Linked DNA regions of Homo sapiens: regions 1 and 3 are each linked to region 2. The links are contacts of gene promoters, found by promoter capture Hi-C in blood cells and fetal thymus (Javierre and others, 2016). All regions are on one chromosome and are shown on one strand. Each heading gives the region's core, a stretch centred on a gene start or on the middle of the fragment in contact. The rest is flanking DNA. Distances are from core to core; before and after follow the strand shown. Region 1 overlaps ADAMTS9 (ADAM metallopeptidase with thrombospondin type 1 motif 9). Region 2 holds the start of ADAMTS9 (ADAM metallopeptidase with thrombospondin type 1 motif 9). Region 3 overlaps ADAMTS9-AS2 (ADAMTS9 antisense RNA 2).

Region 1 (3,398 bases), core at 532-3,031, 150 kb before region 2:
TACTTTCTTCTTGAGGCTTCCTACTCCACAATGAGCAGTTTCAGAGCTAAAAATATTCCACATGAACACTCCTGATTGCTTTCTCTCTGAAACTGACAAACCAGCACTTTGTCAAAACAGTCTTTTATAAACAAGAAGAGAGGCAAGGAGGAGCTCACAGCTGATCAGACCCGCGTGTAAGAAAAATTCTTTCACCTGTGATTGGATCCTGGCCAGATCTTTTCTCACCTCTTGGAACCTCAGTTTATTCATCTGTAAAATGGAAAGCACTAAAACTCTCTTCCCTCTGAGCACCGTACAGAGGACTAAAAGAAATCAGCTATGGCTGGCGCTTAGTAGATATGCAAAAAGATGGTATCTGTCTTACATTTTCTAATTGTTTTGTAAGTGTTCGTGTGATCTCTTCAATGTAACAGTAAGCTTATTGAGAGCAGGGCCTTACTATTGCTTTGTTTATTGAATCAGCTATGGTTTGTAACATACGACTAGCCACTTAAATATTATATCCCAGCTCCTCAATTAAGATTTCCAGGACTAAGTGTAGCTTAGAGGTCTCTCAATGCCAGTTCCATAAATATTGACTAACAAAAGTTTATAAACACTTCTGGAGTGCTAGATTCCACAAGATAGAGGTGACCAGAGGACTTAGTTTGGACTAAATCAGTGGTTCTCAACAGGGCACGATTTTGACCCCAGGGGAAATCTGGCAATGTCTGGAAACATTTTTGTTTGTCACAACTGTGGGGGGGCAGGGAATGGTGCTGCTGTTGGCATCTGGCGGGTAGAGACCAAGGATGCTGCTGCGATGCACAGGACAGCCCACAATAGAGAATTCTCCAGCCCGAAAAGTGCTGAGGCTGATTGAAAACCTGGTACAAAGGGTAGATTTACCCTAGAATCTTGCTCCCTTCTTTACTTTCAGCATGACCTCAGGCAAGGAGATCATCTGTAAAATGGATTAGTAAGACTTAACCTGTGAATAGGAGGTGATTAGACAGAAGGCACAATGCACGTCACGCATTACCTGGCAGACAGTAGGTAATATTTAAAAAATATTTTTGGGCTGAGTGTGGTGGCTCACACCTGTAATCCTAGTACTTTGGGAGGCTGAGGCAGGTGGATCACCTGAGGCTGAGAGTTCAAGACCAGCCTGGCCCAACGTGGTGAAACCCCATCTCTTCTAAGAATACAAAAATTAGCTGGGCATGGTGGTGTGTGCCTGTAATCCCAGATGCTCGGGAGACTGAGGCAGGAGAATAGCTTGAAGGCAGGAAGTGTAGGTTGCAGTGAGCCCAGATTGTGCCACTGCACTCCAGCCTGGGCAACAGAGTGAGATTCCATCTCACATATATATACATATGACATTTTTATGACAATATGCTACAGAGGTTCATGGTTCTTATGTGGCATGGCTGCCATGCTCAGGTGTTTTTGATTGTAGCTGCACTGAAGCCCCCTCAGACACCGGATTCTGTATGTTGCATTATTCCATTGGCCATTTTCTTTTCTTTTCTTTTCTTTTTTTTTTTTTTTTTTTGAGACAAGGTCTCACTCTGTCACCTAGGCTGGAGTGCAGTCGCATAATTTTGGCTCACTGCAACCTCTGCCTCCCGGGTTCAAATGATTCTCCTACCTCAGCCTTCTGAGTAGCTGGGACTACAGGTGTGCACCACCACGCCCAGCTAATTTTTATTTTGGTAGAGATGGAGTTTCACCATGTTGGCCAGGCTGGTCTTGACCTCAAGTGATCCACCTCCCTCAGCCTCCCAAAGTGCTGGGATTACAGGCATGACCCACCGCACCTGCCACCCCCTCCCCCCAAAATTTTCTTATCTTACTATCATTCCTGCCCCCAGGAGTGGGTCCACATAACTCAAAGTGCCCAGGCCATCCTAGTGCCAAGAATGTCCCTCTTTTCTCCCTCCATTCTGCTTTCCACTCAGACTGCCTGTCCCACCTGCACTGCAAGAGAAAGGAGACTTGATCTGCTTTGGCACTGAAGTTTTCCGGAGGTCCAGGCGGCTGACCCAGCTTCTTTCTGGACAATGCCCCCAGCCGACCTGGGCGTCCAGTGTCTGAACATGCTCAATATATACGTCTACTAAGTCTGCCTTCCCAGAGGGGTTGATGAACCCAGATGCAACAGGAGATCATCCTCCTCATTCTCCTTCTGCCCTTTCCAGTTTAGGGATCTGCATTTCAGCAAATGTCCTAGCTGATTGTTAGCACTCTGAAAGTTGAGTTCCACCAGAGAAGTAAAGACCTAATGTTCTTTCTGGCTCTGCTCTGGGACATCTTTGCCCTTAAAGGCCTTATCTTCAAGGTCTAAAGGGCACATGAGTTGTAAATACCACCTTCTGTTGCCTATTCTAAAGAAGAGTGATTGAGAGTTATACGTTTACTAGTTGGTCCGTAAAGGTTTGCAAAAGATGTGCTTAGACCAAAGGATAATCCTGTTTTCTGTTGTACAGGAGCAAATGTTGCAGAAATCTTGCCTGAAAACAGAATCAAAAAGACATGTCTACTATCATGGATATGAATTCAGACACACTTAGGTTCAAATCCAGACTCTACTGAGCGGCAGCTGTGTAGGTTTGGGCAAATCCTCCCAATTTCTACTCCTTACCCTCCTCCTCTTTAAAAAGGAGGCATTTTCATAGAATACTGTGGTGATTTAAATGCTACATTGAGTAGACAATACTGAGTACAGTGACTAAAGCAAAGACGCATAATAAATGCTAGCTATTAATACCATCAATAATAATAGTGTCACATCTACTGTCATCAGGATAAAAAATATTCTGGTTATGTTTCAAGATGAGGGCTGTCGGGGAATCCACTCTTATTAATAAATACATCCACAAAGCAATAGTGGTCAATGAGGTAAAAGAAAGAAATTCTCAAACACAACATCATTCTGCTTTGATTTCTGTGCAATCACTAGGTCAAAGGCTGAACCACCTACTCCGAAGCAGTCTCCACAATCACGCTTTCTACAAACCTTTTCCTGGAAAACTGATTTGAAAAACTCACATCTTGCATCAGTGTAGCTGGTGCTCAATATGTGTCTAAGGAATTGAATTCTTAAAGTACCCAATATGGTTTGAAGAATGAGCTGGGAAAAAATACAAATTAGCCTCTCTCAAGCTTTGGGTTTTCTCATTTAGGAATTGCTTCATTGTCAGGATTTAGCAAATCAATCAGTTCATTTGTCTCTGAATTATTAAAATAAATGAATGCAAGTTACTTTTCATTTACTTAAGCTTCCCAAAGGATGTGCATATAGAAACAAGAAAATCCTGAGACATTTGAAAAAGGCAGGACAGGGCCAATCTGTTAGCCACTAAAATGCAACAGATACCAATGGGGTTTTTGAAGCCATCAATTGCCCTAAAAAA
Region 2 (3,103 bases), core at 29-2,528:
GCGATAAATCCGGCATTGGCGGTGAGATTAAATAGAAACTGCTGGCCGAAGGCAGAGAGGCGGTAATGCGCCTGGGAGGAGGTAGAGGAGGAAGAGGAGGAGGCGAAGGCAGGCCAGGGGTCAGTGGCAGAGTTAATGCTCCGTCGCGTTCTTTTGAAGTGGACGTTCGTGGGAAAGGGTTCTCCGAGAGCGTTCACTCGGATGGGAGACACGATTTCGTATTCGCTCAGGGTCTCTAATAATTTCACTGCGGAGAGAAGCAGAGGTATATGAACCAATAATTCATTTTTCCTTAAGCTTTAATTTAAAACGAAGGTGGGGACTTTGTTCTGACCTTATTTTCCAGCCCATTCGAGTCAATCCCTTCACCCTTAATCAGTGGACAAATATTTGCTGAGCACCTACTATGTGCCAGTAACAGGACCTGTGCTAGGTGCTGAGGATACACTATTCCGAGCCAGACAATTAACAAGTCAAAATATATATGATTTCAGATATTGATAAATAACCTGAATAAAATAAAACATGACGCTATCTGGTGCCCCCAATTACTAAGTTACTTTAGTTTGCGGCGTGGGAGTGGGGATGGGGATATATCTGGCAACAGCAAGGTAGGGGGGGGTTGCCTAAATTCGTTTCCATAGTGTCCCTCCCTAGCAATTGGTTGGGGATGACCCAAAGAAGGGAGAGGCTGCAAAGCGGGAGATAATTCTTTCTAGGAAAAGGAGAGAAGCCTCCGCTGCGGGGTGCCCCTGCCCAGGAGCGAGGACCGGGAGGCGGCGTCGGGGCCGGCGGGGTCCCGGGGGCCGGAGCCTGGTTACCTTGCCTCGGGTGCAGCCTGTCCTTGCGCACGGCCGCCGCGGCGTCTGGGCTCCCCATCTCGGCCAGGTCCCGCACCAGGAGCGTTAGCAGTGTGGCCCAGGATACAAACTGCATGGTGCTTCCCACCCCTCCCTCCGCTGCCCCCACCCCCCTCCCTCCTGCCCTCCTTGGCTGCGGCGGCGACGCGAGGCAGCGGCCGTGGAGAGCGCGCGGAGCCCGGCGCCCGCCGCCAACTTTTGACTTTAGGAGTCGCTGAGGTCTCGCTGCGAGGGTCCCGTCTGCGCTCGGCTGAGCAACGCCGCCGCCTGCCGAGAGCTGAGCCGCTCGGGCCGCAGGAGGAGCCGGAGGAGCAGGAGGAGGAGGAGGACTGGGGCTCGGCTGCTTGGCCGCATAATGCCCAGCGAGCGGGCAGGAGAAGGCGAGGAACTTGCGCTCCGAGGCGCGCCGGGCGCCCTGTGCTGGCCGGGATAGCTGAGCGGCTTCTTGAATGGGGGGCTGGGGGGGCGGAGGCGGGGGGGCCGCGGGTCCACAGCCTCTCAAATGCCCCCGGTGCACGCCTCTAAGAGGAGGAGAGGGGAGGAGAAAGCGAGACGAACGGGGACCGCCTCCTTCCAGACCATGTCCCCTCCTCGGCCGGCCCGTGCGGGACTCGCAGCCGGAGGCCCTGCCGGCTGCAAGAGGCGGAGGCCAGAGGCGTCACCAGCGCCGGGGCAGCTGTTCCTGGTCCCCGCCACCTCGCTGAAGTGGGGTTTTCTGAGATTCCCTGCCCCGGGGAGGGAAAGCAGGGAAAGTTCTCTCCCTTTCCTGGCGCGCGTGCAGCCACTTCCCCTCTCGTCTTTTTCCTCTCCTCTCCTCTCTCTCCTCCCTTCCGAGTCTCTTTTTCCTCCTCCCCCTTGTCTCTCTGCTGCTGTGCCTCTCGGACTCTGTCCCTTCTCCCCATTTTCCCCTGTGATGTCTGTCTTCTCCCCGCCCCACCGTGTCCCTGTCTGTTTCTCACATTTCTCCTTTTCCTTTCCTTTCTCTTCCGTCCCCATCTCTTGCCACCAGTCCCCATCTTTTGGTTTCTTACAAGTGAAAGTGGCCCAGCGCCGGAGCGCCTTCCCTTCCTACACTTTTTCATTCGGGAAGAGATTTGGCACCTGAGCTCCGCTCTCGATTTAATCACCCCAAGTCAAGAGTTTTAGAAATGGGGTTCTTAATCCTGCAGGTCGGAGTGTGTTTCTAATACGTGGTCTCTTGAAAATTTCGCAAAATATTTAAGCTGTGCTTTCCACCAACCTCTGTCACCATTCATGGAGGGTCCATAGCATTCTGTAGGTCCCCTGCCCCAAAAAAGGTTAAGAACAAATTTTGGCAGCAAGAAGGGGCGGGGACTCTGGCGCCCCTCACTACCAGGGGGTTTAGAGATGGGAGGGGAAGGGGGGATGGAGTGTAAAGTTGTAGATCCCTGTGGGAGGCACCAGTCCCTGGAGGGATTTCTCAATCACTTCCGCTTGCTTTCAGCCTGAGAGATGCTTGGAAAGACTGGGAAAGACTGAAAGCAGGCGCTTCAAGCTACACCTTCGTGTGTGTGTGTGTGTGTGTGTGTGTGTGTGTGTGTGTGAATTGTTCAATCTTGGGTGGTTCAGTGGCGCCTTTTCTTTAACCAGCCCTCAGGAAGATAGAATTTCAAGATAATTTCAAGAGGAAAGACATGACAATATCGTTAAAAATATATAAATATATGACTAATAAATATATATTTGCCCAAGTATCCTAGAACGGGGGTTGAGGTTCTGTTGCGTGGTAGGTTAGCACTCAGGACTAGAAATACCAAAGATTGCCAACACCAGGAACCAAATCGCAATATGCTAGCAATGTCAACTATTCTTGAGATACTAATACATATATTTCTTCTGGTGAAGGGTAAAAATGACTTGGCAAGACGAATTTGCTAAATAATTGTTAACCCAAATTGATAATGTTACCATCGTCTTATTACTGGAATTTCATAATGGATATGTAAAATGTAAGGATGGAAAAATAACATCTGTATTGTGCACAATTAGAGATTTTTAGAGAATGGCATTTAAACCTTGAACCTCCAAATTAATTCACTAAAATACGTTTCTTCTAATACACAATCTTTCTTTTTATTATAACAACATTCCCCACAATCACAGTGTCTGGGAGTTGCTGAAAATTTAGTAAGGAACAGAAAAATATCAAGAAATCAATCTATTGGCTGATTCCTGTGGAAAATATTCCAGTACTTCCATTGTAAAATTACTCAAAAATATAG
Region 3 (3,480 bases), core at 71-2,570, 230 kb after region 2:
CATTGTAGCAATAATTACTATCATTTTTTAAGCATCTTCTGAGGGCTGGGCTTTTTGCTAGGTGTTTTCCCATTAATCCACACAATAAGGATGTATTATTGCCTCCACTTCACTTTGGTGGCCAATGAGGCTTAGAAATGCATAGTAACTTGCAGAAAGCAAAGTCTGGATTTAAACTTGACTGTCTGCTTTTTTGACATGACCCTTGTTAAAGCAAATTTAAAATGGGAACCAGGCCTGAAGAATACCTGAGTGGACAAAGCCAGTTAGGCCTCAACCTTGCGTGATTTGCAAGCATAAGTGAAACTTAATTTGAACTATTTTTTAAAAATGCCTGTATTAGAGAAAAATAGAACTTAAGCTCAACCAGTAAGAAGCAGCAAACAAACTTAGGATTATATAACTACAAACTTTCCGGGGATTGATCAAATAAGGCAACTGTATAACTGTAACCAGTGAAATATTTTCTCTGCGCTACTTCCATGTTCATCCTATAAAAGCTTCTTCCCCCTTGTCTTCCCTTGGTGGAGTTTCTGAACCACTTTTGGTTTGGAGTTCCCGGATTCATGAATCACTATTTATTCATATAAACTCTTTAAAAATTATATTGTGCCTGAGTTTACCCTCTTAATACTCTTTAGCTCAATTTAAGAATATGGTATGCTATAGAATGCAAATGCCTACTCCTCCTGGATGTCTTCTCTGTTACCCTTTCTTCTACAGGTAAGGTTCTGATGATAAACACATGGCAGTTGAGCCACAAATCCCCTCACTTCCACTTCTGGCAGACATTACTAATTGATCACAGCTCCCTTTTTCAGTGAAACTCAAGGACCGGAGAATCTTCAATACAGTATTCCAAAGCAGTCAGTCTCAACAAATTGACTATAGTTAACAGCTGACATCTATTTGAATCTCTGCTATAGTACCTTGTTTATGACTCTATTAATAGCACATATGACATTATATTTTAGTTATTTACCTCCCTTTTAGTTTTTGCTGGGAGACTATGAGACTCCAGTGGCAGGCCCATTCATCTTCCTCAATCCAGCACCCTGTACACAGTCTACTATGTAACACAATGGGCACCTAGTAAGTTTTGTTGGATCAAATGTAAGTACTTGTAGTTTAAACCTGTTTGACTACCAAATGCCATACATCCATATGACTGCACTACTGCCTAATACTAGCTTTCAAGAACTTTTCCAGATGACTCCTGAGCTTTATTCCAGAACTTTCCTAGGTAATCATCAAGTGTCTCTCATTGTGTCTCTTTGGGTCCACAAAAGAAAAGAAATGAGAAATGAATTAATGATTAATGTCCTGGAGAAGTCTTTCTCCCTTTTTAGTTTATTTCAGCCAGAACCACCTTAGGCTGTATTCTGTGTGGCCTCTGTGAGAGGTGCTATGTGGTACAGAGAGGAGTAAGACTTGTTCCCGGACATCAGGGTACTCACAGGCATGTGGGGAGGCAGCCATATAATGACAGTGGGGTTGTCATGGAGAAAAGCAGGTGACACCTTGGGTGAACAAGGCTTTGTCCAAGAAAATCTTGAAGAGTGAAAAAGATTTGGCCAGGAGGAAAGGGAAAGAAGGATGTTTAAAGCACAAAAAACATTGTGCTTCTGAGTCTAAATCCAGGCATTCCAGGGATGTGACTGTTGATTTCAAAGTCCTCAAAGTATACGTTTTATCTGTCTCTCAAAATGCTTTGGGATCTTCCAAGTAGAACTTCAGTAGATCTGCCCTGAATCTCTGGAGCCTGCCATTGTACATATGCTTTCTACACCAACACATGGAAATAGTCTTTCATTTATTTATTATTTTAATGCAGCGATTGATCATGGTTGTTGAGGGGGATCATGCATTTTTTAGGATTTCAGCACACCTTTTACATACCCTGAGGGTCCACCTTCTGAAATCAATGAATGCCTCATGAGCATATTCTTTCAGAATTGAAACCTTCAAAAAGAGGCACATAATTTCCCCAATTTCCTATGAAAGACATTATTCAAATGTCCTCAAGTGACGGATGGTCTAATAATCTGCAAAAACGTGCTCCTTACACTCTGAGGTCAGCCCTGTTTTACTTAAAAGTTTGCACTCATACAAGTACCATCTGGAGCCCACATCCTCTGTCTTAAGCTTCAAATAAATCCTGATTTACCTCAGAAACATTTGCCAAGAGTCTGCTTGCTAGAAAAATTACCAGTTTCTCCCCGTTTGAGGCATACCTTTGCAATAAATGAGCATAGTAGGCATTTAATAAAAGACTGCCCATTGGGATGCTCTTTAGGATGCTAAAAAAGTTACCTGTTGGGGAACAAAAATTGGGAAATTGCAGCTACTCCTTTTTGTGGATGGGGAGGACGGCGGATCTGGAAAGACTACACAATTTTTTTTTTTTTTTATCTGGGTCATCCTAATCCAAATTAAAGCTGCATGTGCTGCCTCGACATTCTGACTCAATACCGCTGCAGTTTCCTTACAAAACATTTTTCAGCTCTCAGTATGGGGCACATTTTGATCTGATGATGTATGTAGGTAGAAGAAGAATGGATGGATGCTTGAAGATGGACTTCAAATCTCAAAGGGATCATGTGCTATTGTGTTCCTTGAAAAGCCTGAGGAATGCTTTATGCTTAGTCTAACCCACAGTCTGCTGGTGGCATGTTTGCAGCTAACACCTTGCAAAGGGGAAACAGGGCCTTGGGGGCCCATGTTTTCTCTCTGGGACAAAAACCAAGGTGCGTATATGATTTCTCTAATAATTCTAAGGTGTTATCCAAACTCAGTCCTGGGTCCAATGCACTCTGAAAAATGCCTTAAGCGTTTGAGCTAAGCCACTGAGTAAGGTGATGAAGCTAATCTAGCCACTCTGTTTTTGTGCCAGCCAGTTGATCCACAGATGCTCTGAACATTGATCTGCTTGCCAGGACTGGAAATGGACCACTCCTGTACTTTTTCACTGAATTCCCTTAAAAGTGGAAAAGCACCCCTTTCCTTTTAAAATAGACCCGGAAGCACAGTCAACTAGCCTTAACTCTTTTTCAAGCTTGATTCATAGTTTTTTTTTAAATCAATTCCTGGTAGGAAATGGGTCCTACACACAAGTATTTTTTTTTTTTTCCAAAAATGGGGAAATGAGTAATTCCTAAGTAATGGGCCAAGAAGGAAACCCGGAACTTCAGCAGGCTTTTCACCTTTTGAGTGAACAATCATAAAAGCTTTATTAAAGATTATTTTTTGAAAATCACCCACAATTCCATGATCTAACAATAATGTTTTTACCATTTTTATTTTTAAAAATCTGGTCTTACTCTAAATATTTTTTAAAATAAAATTGTGATTCATAGTGTATAAACTTTTGCAGAATGCATTTTGTTACTAAAAATCTTGTGACCATTTTTGTAGATACTTAATTCCTAAATATTTTTAAAAACTTAGGCTGTTTGAGGGCTACATAATAATCCACAAAAT

Evidence for each region. Contacts are between HindIII fragments. The CHiCAGO score rates a contact against its expected background, and 5 or more counts as called.
Region 1: a contact is called between a fragment that was not itself captured here and the fragment with the promoter of ADAMTS9 in region 2, in 1 of 17 cell types (endothelial precursors). The highest score is 5.1, in endothelial precursors.
Region 3: a contact is called between a fragment that was not itself captured here and the fragment with the promoter of ADAMTS9 in region 2, in 1 of 17 cell types (endothelial precursors). The highest score is 5.2, in endothelial precursors.

The regions. Positions count from the first base shown.
Region 1 is chr3:64,534,035-64,537,432 of GRCh38, forward strand. The region is part of intron 37 of ADAMTS9 (ADAM metallopeptidase with thrombospondin type 1 motif 9); the gene reads right to left. Among named protein-coding and RNA genes, the nearest start is that of ADAMTS9-AS1, 26 kb to the right of the region's middle. The HindIII fragment of the contact is 2,727 bases long and covers 419-3,145 here.
Region 2 is chr3:64,686,722-64,689,824 of GRCh38, forward strand. ADAMTS9 (ADAM metallopeptidase with thrombospondin type 1 motif 9) reads right to left here and starts at 1,279. Exons shown (of 40, transcript NM_182920.2): 1 at 822-1,279; 2 at 1-247. The coding sequence starts at 936. The region is part of intron 1 of ADAMTS9-AS2 (ADAMTS9 antisense RNA 2); the gene reads left to right. The HindIII fragment of the contact is 3,589 bases long and covers 296-3,103 here.
Region 3 is chr3:64,919,330-64,922,809 of GRCh38, forward strand. The region is part of intron 4 of ADAMTS9-AS2 (ADAMTS9 antisense RNA 2); the gene reads left to right. The region is part of intron 2 of LOC105377124 (a long non-coding RNA gene); the gene reads right to left. Among named protein-coding and RNA genes, the nearest start is that of ADAMTS9, 230 kb to the left of the region's middle. The HindIII fragment of the contact is 1,645 bases long and covers 499-2,143 here.